Linked DNA regions of Homo sapiens: region 2 is linked to region 1. Evidence: promoter capture Hi-C in human tissues and cell types (Jung and others, 2019). All regions are on one chromosome and are shown on one strand. The core of a region is centred on a gene start or on the middle of the fragment in contact, and the rest is flanking DNA. Distances in the headings are between cores, read along the strand shown. Region 1 holds the start of ZMYM6 (zinc finger MYM-type containing 6). Region 2 overlaps NCDN (neurochondrin).

Evidence for each region. Contacts are between HindIII fragments. The study calls those that stand out against the background at their distance.
Region 2: a fragment that was not itself captured here is called in contact with the fragment with the promoter of ZMYM6 in region 1 in 2 of the 25 tissues and cell types used here (aorta and lymphoblastoid cells).

What each region holds. Positions count from the first base shown.
Region 1 is chr1:35,028,015-35,035,755 of GRCh38, reverse strand. It overlaps ZMYM6 (zinc finger MYM-type containing 6), which reads left to right and starts at 3,811. Exons shown (of 16, transcript NM_007167.4): 1 at 3,811-3,941; 2 at 5,043-5,209. The coding sequence starts at 5,117. It overlaps LOC124903990 (a long non-coding RNA gene), which reads right to left and starts at 3,036. Exons shown (of 2, transcript XR_007065739.1): 1 at 2,599-3,036. RefSeq lists enhancers at 3,622-3,801, 3,458-3,982, 3,983-4,509 and a silencer at 3,972-4,091. The HindIII fragment of the contact is 33,615 bases long and covers 1-7,741 here.
Region 2 is chr1:35,564,668-35,572,408 of GRCh38, reverse strand. It overlaps NCDN (neurochondrin), which reads right to left. Exons shown (of 7, transcript NM_014284.3): 7 at 5,630-7,182. The coding sequence ends at 6,746. TFAP2E-AS1 (TFAP2E antisense RNA 1) reads left to right here. Exons shown (of 3, transcript NR_183387.1): 3 at 2,490-2,598. Among named protein-coding and RNA genes, the nearest start is that of TFAP2E, 4.8 kb to the left of the region's middle. RefSeq lists a silencer at 2,091-2,192. The HindIII fragment of the contact is 6,197 bases long and covers 1,007-7,203 here.

The DNA of each region.
Region 1 (7,741 bases), core at 2,562-5,061:
GCAACTGCAGTACTTCAATCTCTGTTTCCATCATCGCATGGGGTTCTCCTCCAATGTGTATGTCTTCATATCTTCTCCTCTCTTAAGGACACCAGTCATAATGGATGAAGCGCCCACCTTCCTTCAGTGTGGCCTCATCTTAACTAATTACATCTGCAACAATCCTATATGACTAAATAAGGTCCCATTCTAAGGGTTAGGACTTCAACATATCTTTTTAGGTGACACAATTCAACATAATGAATAACAAATACCAATTCTCCAAAACAGGCATACCACTTCAGTATAATACTAAACAAAATCCCAATGGATTCTAAAATTTGTAAGGAAAGTTTTGTCACAACTGACAAGCTGATTCAAAAATTTACATGAAGATGCAAAGGACCAAGGAAAGCCAAGATAATCTTGAAGGACATAATAGGAGGGAGGACTTTTTCTATCATATACTAAGATTTATTATAAAGCTATTACAGAAATTAAGACAGTATGGTATTTCCACAAGGAGAAACAAAAGGAACAGCCTTCATAGTCCTGAAATAAACCCACACATATATAGACAACTGATACATGACAAAGGTGTCAATGCAGAACAGTGGGGAAAAGGACAGTCTTTTTAAAAAATAGTGCTTAATCCATGCAAAATTCACATGGAAAGGTTGAAATCTGACTTACCTTACACTATACACATAACCCAACCACAGATGGATTATAAAACTAAATGTGAAAGACTAATAACACTTCTAGAAATTTTCTTCATTTGGTAGGAAAATATTTCTTAAGAGAATACAATAAGCACTAAGCACAAAGGGTTTTTTTGTTGTTGTTGTTTGTTTGTTTTTTGGATGGAGTCTTGCTCTGTCACCCAGGCTGGAGTGCAGTGGCATGACCTCAGCTCATTGCAACCTTCGCTTCCTGGTTCACGTGATTCTCCTGCTTCAGCCTCCCGAGCAGCTGGGACTATAAGTGCACACCACCATACCCGGCTAATTTTTTTTTTTTTTCCTGAGGCAGAGTCTTGCTCTGCCACCCAGGCTGCAGTGCAGTGGTGCGATCTTGGCTCACTGCAACCCCTGCCTCTGGGGTTCAAGTGATTCCCCTGCCTCAGCCTCCCTAGTAGCTAGGATTACAGGTGCCCACCATGCCCAGCTAATTTTTGTATTTTTAGTAGAGACAGGGTTTCCTCATGTTGGCCAGGCTGGTCTCAAACCCCTGGCCTCAAGAGTTCCGCCCGCCTCAGCCTCCCAAAGTGCTGCTATTATAGGCATGAGCCACTGTACCCGGCCACAAAGGTCTTTTAAGTTCATCAAAAGACACCAATAACAGAGTGAAAAGGCAAGCTACCGAGTGGGAGAAGATATTTGCAATATATACAGTAGTCCCTCCCTTATCCATGAGGATATGTTCGAAGATGTTCCACAGATGCCTGAAACCTCCAGTAGTATCAAACCCTATATATGCTATGTTTTTTCCTATACATACATACCTATGATAAAGTTTAATTTATAAATCAGGCACAGAAAGAGACTAACAACTAACAATAGAACAATTATAACAATAGACTTTAATGAAAGTTGTTTAAAACTTATGAATTATTTGTTACTGGAATTTTCCATTTAATATTTTCAGACCGTGGTTGAGTGTGGGTAACTACGACTTCAGAAAGCAAAACCGTGGATGAGGGGGGCTAGTGTATATTCAAAAAAGACTTATCTTAGTGTATTCCTGATTGCCAAAAGAAAATGCCACAGACTGTGTAATTTATAAATAGTAGAAATTTATTTCTCACAGTTCTGGAGGTTGGCAAGTCCAAGATCAAGGCACTGGCAGATTTGTTGTCTTGGAATTACTCTCTAATTCCAAGATGAAACTTTGTTGTTGTCCTCTTGCTGGGAGGAACATTGTTATCATACAGTGAGGGGTTAAAAGGGCAAAAGGAATGAATCTTTGTGAAGGGCATGAATGCCCTCTTTTGTAAGGGCATGAATCCCATTCATGAGGATGGAGTCCTCATAGCCTAACCCCTCCCAAAGGCTCCACTTCTTATACCATCGCCTTAATGTTTAAGTTCCAATATATGAATTTTGAAGGGACACATACATTCAAACCATAGCAGGATTCATATCTAAAATATATGCCCATAAGAAAATGTCAATCCAATACAAAAATGAGCAAGAGACTTGAACAGGCACTTATGGGGGATATCCAGATACCCAAGGAACAAGAAAATGGGCTCATCCTCATTAATAATCTGGGAAATGCAAATTAAAACCACAGTGAGATACCACTATGCCCCCATCAGAATGGTTATAATTAAAAAGATATGCAGCAGTAATTATTGGCAAGGATGTTGGGAAACTGAAACTCTCATACATGGCTGAAGGGAGTATAAACTGAAACCACCATTTTCTAAAATTGCCTGAGATTATCTACCTAAATTTTACATATACATAACAAGCAATTTCACTTTTAGGTATGAACCCAACAGAAATGTGTGCATATGTATCACTGTTAAATAAAACTTGTAGGCCATTGTTTCGGGCTAAGCTCCTGCAGTAGGTCTCAATGAACCAGACTAAAAATCAAAATGGAGTCACTCACACTGAGGTTCCATGTCATCAAATGGAAACTACGTTGTTATTTGAAGTTCTGAAAAGTCAGGAAAAAGAGATAATAAGAGTCTAATTTCCCCTGAGTGCCAGTTTCAATTAGCATAATAATGAAATTTCTTCTGCTTTAATCGTTACCAAAAAAAGATAAACTGAAGTTACCTGATGTTAACCAATCAGTTATTTCTCTATTGTTTTGTTTCTTGGTTCTGCTTTACAAGGAAATTAACTTATTTATTTATTTTTTGGAAAGTTACTTTGAAATGAACCAATCTGTTTTTTGTTCTTTACTTCTGCTTTCTCCAGCCCTTCTCTGTCTATAAAACCTACCTCTTCTGCTCAGCTCATTGGAACACTTGTTCTATTTTATGGAATGAAGTGCTGCCAGATTCTAGAATCACAAATAAAGCTAATTGAGATATTTAAATTAAATTTGTTGTAATTTTGTCTTTTAACATCACCAATGACAAGAATGTTCACAGAAGCATTATTCCTAATAGCCACAAATTGGAAACAACTCAAATGTCCATCAGTAGTAGATGATTAAAATTGTATCATATTCATAAAATAGAATACTATACAGCAGTCAAAATGAATGAACAGTCACAAATCATACACGTATCTGTGAAACAATGTTGAATTAAAAAAACCAAATCTCAATTTTGAGCAAGTTTTTTCATTTATATCTCAAGAGATTAAAAAATTATACCTCTTAGGGTTAAATGGTGAGGATTAAGTGGGATGGTGCATGTGAAGTGCTCAGCAAGCCAAGTATTATTTAATATCATGCTCTCTCAGTAGGCCACCTTTCAGGAAATGGGCACTAAAGGATGCTACAGATTAGCTAGGTGTGGTGGCACGTGCCTGTAAGCCCAGCTACTCGGGAGGCTGAGGCAGGAGAATCGCTTCAACCCAGGAGGCGGAGGTTGCAGTTAGCCGAGATTGTGCCACTGCACCCCAGCCTGGGCAACACAGTGATACTCTGTCTCCAAAAAAAAAAAAAAAAAAAAAAAAAAAAAAAAAAAAAAAAAAGAATGCTATAGAGCACTTACAGCGCCTTCTAACGCCATCTCCACCTTTTCACTATTGAGCCTCGGTCTCTTTAAGAAGTGAACCATAATTGAGGAAAGAGGAATGCTGGGAAGTTCTACTCAGCTCAGGTCCGGAGCCTGACGGGAAAAGAGGGCGGAGACCAAGGCTGCGCAGGCGTGGTTGGCCGGTCGTTGCGTTGGGATGGATCAGGCGGAATTCCAGAAGAGAAAATAATCCCTGTCTAGATGCAGAGGACTTGGTTCCTATTCCAGTGCTCCTCCGGTAGCAGGGAGGCGACAGAAGGTGGGTGCGGCCGCAGTGGTAGTGGGCGGGACGGCGGGGCGGAGGCCACACCACGTGACGAGGCGTTGCGGCGGGGGCGGTGCCAGGTGGGCTACGCGGCTGGGGCGGCTGCGGATATCGCCTTAGGGACGCGTTGACATTCACTGGCTAGTCCACCGCTCTCAGTCGGAGACCACATTGCCTCGTTAGTCCTCAATGATGGGAGTGGGAATTCTTGGTGGGAAGGAGAATTTCGGAAAGCGTGCGGTTCTCAGAGGAGGGATGAGCGCCCGTAGATATTTTGTGGCGAGTGCGCAAAAGTTCTCATTTCTTCTTTGGAACAGGCTTTTCAACCAGTTGTCCGTTTCCATCCCGGACTATTCGGATAAAGACAACTTTGAAGAGCTTTTTGTTTTAGGTTTAATTCGTCCCGTTTAGTTCTTTGACTTTTAGGGGAAGGGAATTTACTGAATGGCCAATTGAGTTTCTTTTCTACAGGAAGGCGATTGTGAAGCGGGGCTCTGAGGGGCTTGATGCCCCCCACCCCTCACACGGAGACCTTGAAAGAGGCAGGTGACTCACTTTCAGTAAGGGCGTTCCTGTTGTTCGCCTGCGATGGATGGCATCTTGAGCTCACATCTAGCGTTAGGCCGAGAAATGGGGCCCTTAGGGAGGCTTCCAGTGAAGGTTGAGTTATAGGTCAGGGCCGGGAGGTTGTTGTGCCCCTCTTTGAGAAATAAAAGCCGACGTGGGCCTCTAAGTACTGATTCTTATGGGGTCAGAAACTATTTCTTGAGTCCGTTCTTCTCAGAGTTTATTACTTCCTCCCACGTCTTGGTCTGCTGGTCTAATTCCCTTCAATAACCTTCAACATAGGAAAAAACCAGAGTGTGTTGTGTGTCTTTAAAGATATTAGAGAAGTGGGAGCTGTTGCCCCAAAACTGTTTTCTTATGTAGCTACTGAAGGAACAGAAAGCAGGAAGAAAGAAAAAAGTTAGTTGTGGCCCCAGAAGAGTTGTTTTTCAAATGCCGAGCCGTGAAGCCTCATGCACTCAACACAAAGTTTTTCTTTCATATAGATAAGCCTGAAGAAAAAAGAATAAGCCTGAGTATGTATTTTAGGTGTCCAACTATCCATTACCAAGAAGAAATCTATTCGTTTGAGCCTGAGACACTCTTTGAGGTAAAAAATTAGAATGAAAGAACCTTTGGATGGTGAATGTGGCAAAGCAGTGGTACCACAGCAGGAGCTTCTGGACAAAATTAAAGAAGAACCAGACAATGCTCAAGTAAGCATTTCATCTTCATTTAAAAATTTAAAAAAATTCCTTCTTTTCCATCTGGTCAACTGAAAAATTTTAGTTAAACGGCTTCTGGTTTGTAAGTTTAAAATAACCCAAACTGAGACAGGCTCTCGCTGTCGCTGAGGGTGTAGTGCAGTGGTGCGATCTCCTTAGCTCACTGCAGCCTCCACCTCCCAGGCTCAAGTGATCTTCCCACCTCAGCCTCCTGTGTAGCTGGGACCACAGGGCACACACCAACATGCTCAACTATTTTTTTGTATTTTTGGTAGAGACGGGGTTTGGCCATGTTTCCCAGGCTGGTCTCAAACTCCTGAGCTCAAGCAATCCACCCACCTTGGCCTCCCAAAGTTCTGGGATTACAGGCATGAGCCACCATTCCTGGCTGGTTTTTTGCTCTTTGAATGAAAGCTATAACTACATGATTTTTTTGTGTGTGGAAGGAAAGTAATATATTTACCATTTTTCCATACTTGTCACTTAAAAAAAATTCTCTTGTATCTGGTAGTACTTTCCTTTATTCTGTTAAGAATTTGTGGTCTGTGCTAGTCTCTGGGGATCCAGGATTGAGCAAAGTCAGCTTAGTCCCTTCCCTTGTAGAGCTTATATGTTAGTAGAGGAGGCAGAGATTACAAAAGTATTGGTCAAGTAATATATATAATTACAAACTATGACAAGTACTCTGGAAGAAAAGCCTAAAATGGGGAATCTGACCTAGTTTTGGTTGTGGTCTGCCTGGGGATGGCTAGGGAAGGCCTCTCTAAGGGAAGGATGTGTAAGCTGAATTATGAAGAATGAATTGATTAGGCAAAGGGTATGGAGAAGAGTATTACAGACAGAGGGAACTGTGAATAGGAAAGCCCTGAGTTGGAAAGATGCATGGTTCTTTTTAAGACCTGCAGGAACAGTGAGCCTGGAACAGAAAAGGTATGAAAATGGTGATGATGATAATGATTAAAACAACAACAATAAAAATAGCTGGCATTAGTATATCAGTATGTAGTATATATTATATCATAATCATATGTGACATTATTAACTTAATATTTATATATGCTTAAGAGTGTGTCAGGCACCATTCTTACCACCATATTATTATCCCCATTTTACAGATGAGGAAACCAAAGCTCAAAAAAGCCAAATAGTTTACCACAGATCACAGTTAGTAGTAAATGACAAAGACTGGATTCAAATCCAGGTGGTCAGACTCCAGAACTTGTGCTATTCTGCTTCTCTATGATAAGGCTGTATATATAGTTTAAGGCTGGATTATGTAGGACGTAGCAGACCTTGTTATAAATTTTGGTTTTTATCCTAAGAGCAGTAGATAGCCATTATAGGGTTTTTTGTTTTTGTTTTGAGATGGAGTTTTGCTGCAATGTTGTAATCTTGGTGGCTCACTGCAACTTTCACATCCCGGGTTCAAGTGATTCTCCTGCCTCAGCCTCCCCAGTAGCTGGGATTATAGGCGCCTGCCACCACGCCTGGCTAATTTTTTGTATTTTTAGTAGAGACGGGGTTTCACCATGTTGGCTAGGCTGGTTTCAAACTCCTGACCTCAGGTGATCCACCCACCTCAGCCTCCCAAAGTGCTAGGATTACAGGCGTGAGCCACCACACCTGGCCAATTGTAGGGTTTTAAGTGAGAAAGTAAGATGAAACAGATTTGTGTTTGGAAAGATCATTCTGGCTACCCCATAGGGACCCAGAATGGAGAGCACGGAAATCAATGTGGAGGCTGGGCACAGTGGCTCACGTCTGTAATCCTAGCACTTTGGGAGGCCAAGGCAGGCAGATCACGAGGTCAGGAGATCGAGACCATCCTGGCTAACACGGTGAAACCCCGTCTCTACAAAAAATACAAAAAATTAGCTGGGCGTGGTGGTGGGCGCCTGTAGTCCCAGCTACTTGGGAGGCTGAGGCAGGAGAATGGCGTGAACCCAGGAGGCGGAGCTTGCAGTGAGCCAAGATTGCGCCACTGCACTCTAGCCTGGGTGACAGAGTGAGACTCCGTCTCAAAAAAAAATAAAATAAAATCAATGGGAGAGATGAGTTAGTTGTTTTGGCAAGGAATTTTTCTTCTGGGACAGTTCTTTCGCTTTACACTCAAAGTTATTGACTTTATTGTATCAGCAAAGCAATTATATTTTAAAATAATAAAAAACAATTTTATTTTTCACACCATCTCACAGGCAGTATCATTCCTTTTTTTTTTTTGAGATGGAGTCTTGCTCTGTCACTCCCAGGCTGGAGTGCAGTGGCGCGATCTTGGCTCACTGCAACCTCCGCCTCCCAGGTTCAAGCGATTCTCCTGCCTCAGCCTCCTGAGTAGCTGGGATTACAGGTGTGCGCCACCACGCCTGGCTAATTTTTTATATTTTTGTTAGAGACTGGGTTTCGCCATGTTGGCCAGATTGGTCTCAAAACTCCTGACCTCAAGTGCTCTGCCCACCTCGGCTTCTCAAAGTGCTGGGATTATGGTTGTAAGCCACCATGCCCAGCCACAGGCAGTATCATAAG
Region 2 (7,741 bases), core at 2,856-5,355, 540 kb before region 1:
GACAAGCAGAGACAGGGATTAAAGATGGACAAATGAGAGGAATGCTAAGGAGAACAGGAATTAAGAAAGCAGAAGAAAGATGTTTTTTAAAAGCAAGATGTGCAGACCAGGGCAAAGTAGAAATAATCACAGCAGACTTATTACAGAATGTGCCAGCCTCTGTGCAAAGTGCTTCACGAATATTGGGTTCTTTAACCCTCACAGCAGCTCTATGAAAGAGATACCCATATCATCCCCATTTTCAGGGGAGGGGTGAGGCATGGAGAGGTTAAATGGCTTGCCCAAGGTCAAGCAGCTAAGTGGCAGAGCTGGGGTGATCTGCCCCTGGCCCCTCTCTGCTCAGAATCACTATTCTCTACTGCCTCAGACTCAGGGGCTTGGATTTAGTCCTGACTCTGCCTAACTGTGTGATCCTAGCTACATCCCGTTTCCTCTGTGATCTCAGTTTCTGCAACTTCGACAACACCAATAAAAAAGTAGGGGAAGGCAGAGAAGACTAGTTGTTTTTTTAGGTCCCTTTTTAGTGAAGTAGTAAATGAGAAGATTAAGGTAAAATTATTGATATAGAAGAGGAGGTGATAGTGACACCATTAACTCATGGAATATATGGTTCCAAGTGGGTATCCCAGAAGGCACATGGCAGGTGCAGAGCTCAGGGCTGGATGATCTCAGCCTGGGGAGTGGTGGGGAAAGAAGGAGGCTAGAAGCCAAGGATTCATCATTAAGAACTTTCTGAAGTCTGGAACCGCCAGCGAGGTTCCAGAGGATGAAGCGGAATTGGGAAGCTTTGCAACTTTCCTGCTCGAGATGGGTCAGAGATCAGGATTGTGTTTGTGTGTATCTATATATGAGGGAGTCTGTGGCAATGCCCTGTTCCTCCCTCCCTCAACCCCAGCCACAGGGCATCAGAAGTCAAGCTCCAGGACAGGTGTCAGTGCGTGAATAGAAATTGATGAACTCCTCTGGGAGAAGTCTAGGAGCCGCAAAGGAGATGATGCCTGTGCCCAGCTGCGGGGATGCCCCTGCTCTCTCCAGCAGCTTGGGAAGGCCAGAGTGGCGGGATGTGCTGCCTGTCTGTGGCTTCCTTGGGTTTTCTCAATCTACTTCCTACACCTTTGATAGCCCCTTTTTGCCTCATTGTCCTACTCCGACCATTTCTGTCTTCTTTTCTGTTTCTCTTTTCACCTACATGCTTAATGTCGGTAATTCTTTCTCAGAGCAGAGAAGCTTCTTTTTCTTCCTGCACTCTTCATGAGTGAGCTCATCCCCTCTCAAGTCTTTTTTTTTTTTTTTTTTATAACAGAGTCTCACTCTGTTGCTTGGGCTGGAGTGCAGTGGCACAATCTCGGCTCACTGCAACCTCCACCTCCCGGGTTCAAGCGATTCTCATGTCTCAGTTTCCTGAGTAACTGGGATTACAGGGGCCCACCACCACGCCCGGCTAACTTTTGTATTTTTACTAGAGACAGGGTTTCATCATGTCAGCCAGGCTGATCTCGAACTCCTGACTTCAAGTGAACACTCGCCTCAGCCTCCCAAAGTGCTGGGATTACAGGCATGAGTCACCACGCCCGGCCCAAGTCTTTAATGACTACCTGTCTACTGTTATCTCCCAACTGTGTTATCTCTGGCCTGAATCACTAGTGAGAGATCCAGACCCATAGACACAGCTGCCAGCTGCGTATTTTCTCCAGACATCTCATTGCAGCTGTCTGAAATTTTCCAAGTCCAACACTGAACTCAACATCTCCTCTATCCCCAGCACCAACCCCAACCTGCTTCTCCTTTGCTCTGTAGTTTCATAAATGACACCACCCTTTTTCAAGTTCAAAACTTGCTAGTCATCCCAGAAGAGCGTAGGTCCTTTCCTTAACCCCCACAAGCTAATCCTTATGGAGTGTTGCCATTTCTAACCCTTAAACATCCACCCACAGAAGGTATGTGGTGGAGAATTGAGGCAGGTATCCCAGAGGGCACATGGCACCCTGTCTCAGCACCTTAAACTACCTTACTCTTACTCATAGATCAGTGGCTCTCAAAGTGTGGTCCCTTGAGCCCAGGAGTTTGAGACCAGCCTGGGCAACACAGCCAAAGAGTGGTTCCTGGACCAGCATCACCAACAATATCTGGGAGCTTGCTAGAAGTCCCAATTCTTGGATCCCACTCATGACCTTCTGAGTCAATAACTCTGGGGGTGGAGCCCAGCAACCTGTGTTATTAATAAGTCCTTAAGGTGACTCAGAGGCACATTAAAGTTTAAGAACCACTATCTAGGCCATTGCAACAATTCTCTAACTGGTCTCCTGACTTTATTCATATCTCTTCTGATCAATTTCCAACTTCCACAAGAGTGACTGGACCATGTTACCTCCCTACTGAAAACTTTCCTAGGGCTCCCCATGACCCATCTTCGGGGGAAAAAAAGTTTAAACATTCTAATGAGCATTCCAGACTCTGCAGTTGTGACTAACTTACTTTTCCTCTTTCAGGAACTGCTTCACAAGATTAAAGGAGAAACAGAAAATGTATCTAGCGCTGTGCTTGGGGCATGGCAGGAACTCAATGAATGCTTATTAAATACTGTAAATGATAAACACATCAATGGATGGTGTTATGAATCCACTGGCCTATTAAGGGATCCTTTAGGAAGGCTCTATGTGAACATGATCCTGGGTATCTACACATAGAACCCAGGTATAATCTGAAGAGATCATCTGATAAGTGAGTGATTTTGATTATGGCTACTGGGGAGAGGGATGTTCTCCATGGTCTGCTGCTGCTTTGAGTCTCCCTAAAACATCAGAGTCCCATGATTTCAGACTCAGGACTACTTCTTTCAGTGCCAAGGGACTCCTCACTCTCTGAGGCATGGAGGTGGAGATTTCTGGTTGTCTGCTCCCTGGGACACATGCACACATGTGGAGGCCTGGGGTGCAGTGGGGTACACATGCAGACAGCCTTGGGAACATGGGGCACACAACTTGCACAGAGACATTCATGGGAAACACAAGTACACATAGGAACATGGGACATATATTGACATAGAGTTGCATGCTCAAACATACGTGGACTCCCATTTGGCACACTTGGCATACTGCTTTTCTCCAAGGCTCCTTCTCTTTTCAAAAAGTGAGCTTGCATTTGGATTTTATGTTAAGAAAAAACTCTGATCTGCCTCATTTATTGTTGACACAGCCACCCTCATCCTCCCAGCCTTTGATCACCTCCTGCTCCAGGCCAGGCTGAGTGTTTGCAGGGTGGGGAAATCTGGCACAAGGAGATGCCAAGGCGCCATCTCGTGGTTAGATCTCACAACTGCAGCTCAGATCTCCCTTTTCCCCACTCCGCTGAAATACCAAGAGCAAGCCAGAACTCTCTGACCATACCTCATTTAAGCACAGAACTCTGTCTGCCTTGTATTAGGAAGCTTTGCAGGGTTTGACTTCTCCACTATGGGAGGGAGAGCACCCTGACAGCAGGGACCATGGGTGGCTGTCACTTTATTTGGGACCTTTCTCTTCTCTTTTCACTTCCCCAGATGATCTCAGTCCCTCCCATGACTTTAGGGACCCTCTATACTGACAGCTCCCAAATCTGTCACTTGCCCAGACTTTTCTTGAGCTCCAGACCATAGAAAGCAACTACCCCTTGGATATACCATGAGCAGCACAAATTCGCCATTTACCAAGTTGAGTTGTGTATGGTATGCACAAATCTGTCTCTGTCCCAGTGTTCCCAGTGACAGTGAATGCCCCATTATCCACTCAGTCTCCCAGATCAGGAATCTGGGAGTCATCCTTGGTTCTACTCCCCTTCTCTTTACCCCTCTTCACTTCCAGTTAATCACCAAGTCCTATTAACTCCTACCTGTATCTTCTCCAGCCTCATTGCCACTGGCTTAGTTCAGACTTAGCATCTCCTCTCTGAGCTCCCTGGCTCAGCCATTCCTCTTGCAGTGCCTCATCTTCCCAAAATGCAAACGGGATCACATTCAATCTGCTAAAAAATCTGCAGTCTAGCCGGGGATGGTGGCTCATGCCTACAATCCCAGCACTTTGGGAGGCTGAGGCAAAAGGATTACTTGAGGCCATGAGTTTCGAGATCAGGCTGGGCAACAGAGTGAGACCCTGCTTCTAAAAAAAACAAAACTGCAATTTGATCTCTCAGCATGATTCCACGTTTAAGCTTCTGAGCACAGCACAGTAGGATCTGGTCCATGCCTGCTGGTTCAACCTCATCTTCCACCACTCCACACTTCACACTCTATACACCATGGAATGCGAAACTACTCGTAGTTCTCAAGCTTGCATGCCTTCAGACCTTGCTGTTCCTTTTCGTGTCTGCCTGGCAAGCCCCTCCTCACCCTGAAGTCTCAGAGCACATAGTTGCTGTAAGTTTTCCTGCAATCGTTTGGCCAGTCTGAGGGGCTCGCATGCTCCAGCCACACTGTGTTTGGACCTACATAGAAGCCACTGCTTACAGTTTTTTTGTTTTTGTTTTTGTTTTTTTGAGACAGGATCTCACCCTGTCTTCCAGGCTGGAATGCAGTGGTGTGATCATAGCTCACTATAACCTCAAACCCCTGGGCTCAAGAGAACCTCTCGCCTCAGTCTCGGGAGTAGCAGGGACTACAGGCACGAGGCACCATGCCCGGCTAATTGTTTTTCTTTTGTAGAGATGGAGTCTCACTGTGTTGCCCAGGCTGATCTTGAATTCCTGGGCTCAAGTGATCCTCCCACCTCAGACTCCCAAAGTATTGGGATTACAGGCGTTAGCCACCACACCTAGCCTCTATGTCTTTTCATATTTACCCCAGAGAATCCATGCTAAGAAGATGGCTTTCAGTACAACCAGTCAATAAATAAATATTCCTGTCTATGCATAGCCAACCACAGGTGGGCACATAGGCTATGCTCAGCACGTGCTTATAGGTTTGAGGGCCTAGGTGGAGGAGGTTGCGGAGGGTATGGGTCTGGGGCCTGTCTGGCTCCAACCTCACAGCTTTGGCTCAGGACTGGTGAAGTACCCATAGTGGGTACTTGGCTCATCTGCTGAAGCTTGCAGGCCCTCTGGCTTCTCATTTGGCATACAGGATCAACAGCTGGTAACCTGAAAGCTACATTTGGACTGCATGTTTTGTTGGATCAGTAGTTATTTAATTAAAGATAGTTACTGACATTCAAAAGTTGGGTTTCACATACAAATTAGGATTCCTGACTTCTTTAAAAATGGGAGGATATGGCAGGGCCACTTGGCAGCAACCCAGTGACATGGGGGCGGGGGTGCAGTGTTTCATCTGTACTTGAGAGCACCAGAGCCCCCACAAGGCCTGGCCACATCAACATGAGTTTGGCAATCTGCTGTACAAGTGAAAGATGTGGGCTGGGGAGTCGGATGGCCTGTGTGGAGTCCTGGCTCTGGCACTGACTAGCGGCAACACCTTGAGCCAATCACTTATCCATGCCAAAGTTGCTTTGTCTGTAAAATCAGAACCCTTCAGAGGATTCTTGGAAGGGCTGAATGAGGTCTCATGATGTGTTTAGCAGGGCATGTGTTCAGCACCTGGTAGCTGTGAACTGATGGAGCCTGGAAGGGAGAGAGCAGGTGCAGGGCAGACCACGCAGGAGGCTTCTCGTCACCAATGAACATTTATTGAGTGTCCACATGTGCACAGCTTTGAACTTGGCGATCACAGAACGCACTGGGGGAGGGAAGCAAGGGATCAAGAGTGTGTGTGTGTGTGTGTGTGTGTGTGTGTGTGTGTGTGTGTGTGTGTGTGGTCCCCCTGGGTTTATAAGAAAGGTAGTCCCTGCTGGAGCCGCCAGTCGCGTCTCTGCAGAGAGGAGTCATAGCAGGGGTGGGAGTTAAAGCCAGGCACCACGGTGGCAGTGGAGTGTAATCACTGGGGAAACATGCGGATTCTGGGGAAGTGTCCCTCCTGTTCCTGGCTCCAGCCAGGCCAGATGGCACCAGGGGGACAGGAATCAGATGCTCAGGTGTCCAAGCAGGGATAAGGACAGGCAAAATAAATAACCCCCCAACCCCCATCGTCACTCTGCTGCAACACGACACAAAGGTTTAAAGATCTGGGCCCAAAGACTCTGGGTCCCTTCAAGCAAGCTCAGGTGGAAGGAGGTTTCCCCACCCCCCACCAGGCCTGTCTGCCCCAGGTTGCCCTAGGATGGAGGCAGTTCAGACCCTGGGTCACTGAAGCTGATAGGAAGAACTGCGATATCAATGGCCTAAGCCTGCTGTCTGCCCAAGGGAGCCAAGGGCAAGAGCCAAAGGGCCAATTTAAAGGACGTGGACCTGGGGGGCCAGAGGAGGCACCACAGCCGAGGGGAGCCCACGCCCTGGCCGGCAGGGCACATGGGCTGAGGCAGTCTGCTCCTGCCAGCCCTGTCTTACCCTGGAGCCTCCCTCCTGCAGGGGAGCCAGACATCGGGCACAATGACACCTAGTGCCCCCCTCCCTGGGGGCTGCTCCAACCTTCCCCGGCCTGGCGGGGACAACCACGTTGATTTCCAAGCCGATCCCTGCCCCCATGGGGGCCTGAGGGGCGGAACGCAGTTCCTTACACTTGAGGGGTGGGCACCATGCCCTTGCCCTCAGAAAAGCCAGAAAGCTGGGGTGTTTTGGGGAGGAAGTCTGGGGAGGGGGGGGCCAGATTGGGGGCTTCAGGGAAGATGCCTCCTCCCTCCTTCCCTCTCTGCCCGCCCCTGGGTCTGTCCCCGGTGGACACCCCTCAGGGCTCTGACAGGCACTGCTCCAAGGCAGCCATGCGGTAGTGGCTGGCCGTCTCCTCGCCCGCCTGCAGCCTCATGGCCTCCCGGCACAGCCGGTTGGCCCGCGCCAGCTCCACCAGGACACCCTGATAGGCGGCCACCATCTCGGGCTTGACAGAGTTGGGGCTGACACTGCCTAGCAGCTGGAGCAGCTCCTGCGGCCAGCGGGAGCGCAGGGCAGCGGGGGCCAGCCAGGGCAGCAGAGGCACACAGCCGGTGAAGGCCTGCATGCCCAGGAACCAGAGCTCCTGCAGGTCGGCCCAGATGCCCTCATACTCAGGGGACAGGGCTAGCACTGCCTGGTCTGAGCCCGGGGTGGCCCGCGCCACGTGGGACTGTGATAGGAAGAGGATGGCAGCTGCGAAGAACCCTCGGGATGCTGGTGTTCCCTGAAGAGCTGCAAGGTAACGGAAGGAGTGGGGCATGAATCGGACAGGCCAGCTGCTGTGTCAGACCCTTCCCTAGTCCTCTGTGTAGACACATGCAGGAGCCAGGGCACAGCCTGGAATCAGACTGCCTGCGTTGAAACCCTGCCTTAGATGCTCACTGTGTGACCTTGGGTAATTAACTTTTCTGGGTCTGTTTCTTTACTTGTAAAATGGGCCAATAGTGCTCATCTTAGAAATTTGTTGTGAGAATTAAATGTGATCATCTTGGTACACTCAACCACCAAGACCTCTACCGGCACTGGAGGTGGGGGTGAGTCACAGGGTCAGATGGGAGAGAGAACCCCTCAGGGTTCTGGACACAGAGCTCAGACACAGGTTAAGGGAGTTGCACCATTTGATCCTTGGGCCAGAAGAGGGCGCCAGAGAGGAACATAAGCAAGTGACCCTGCTTTGCTTACTGGCTGTTCAAGGGGTGACCCTCACACTGCAGGTGCTCTCCAGGAAGCTGTCAACCTAACCTGGTGGTATTTGAGGGTGAGCCAGAACTGGGACCATGAAATTGGGGGC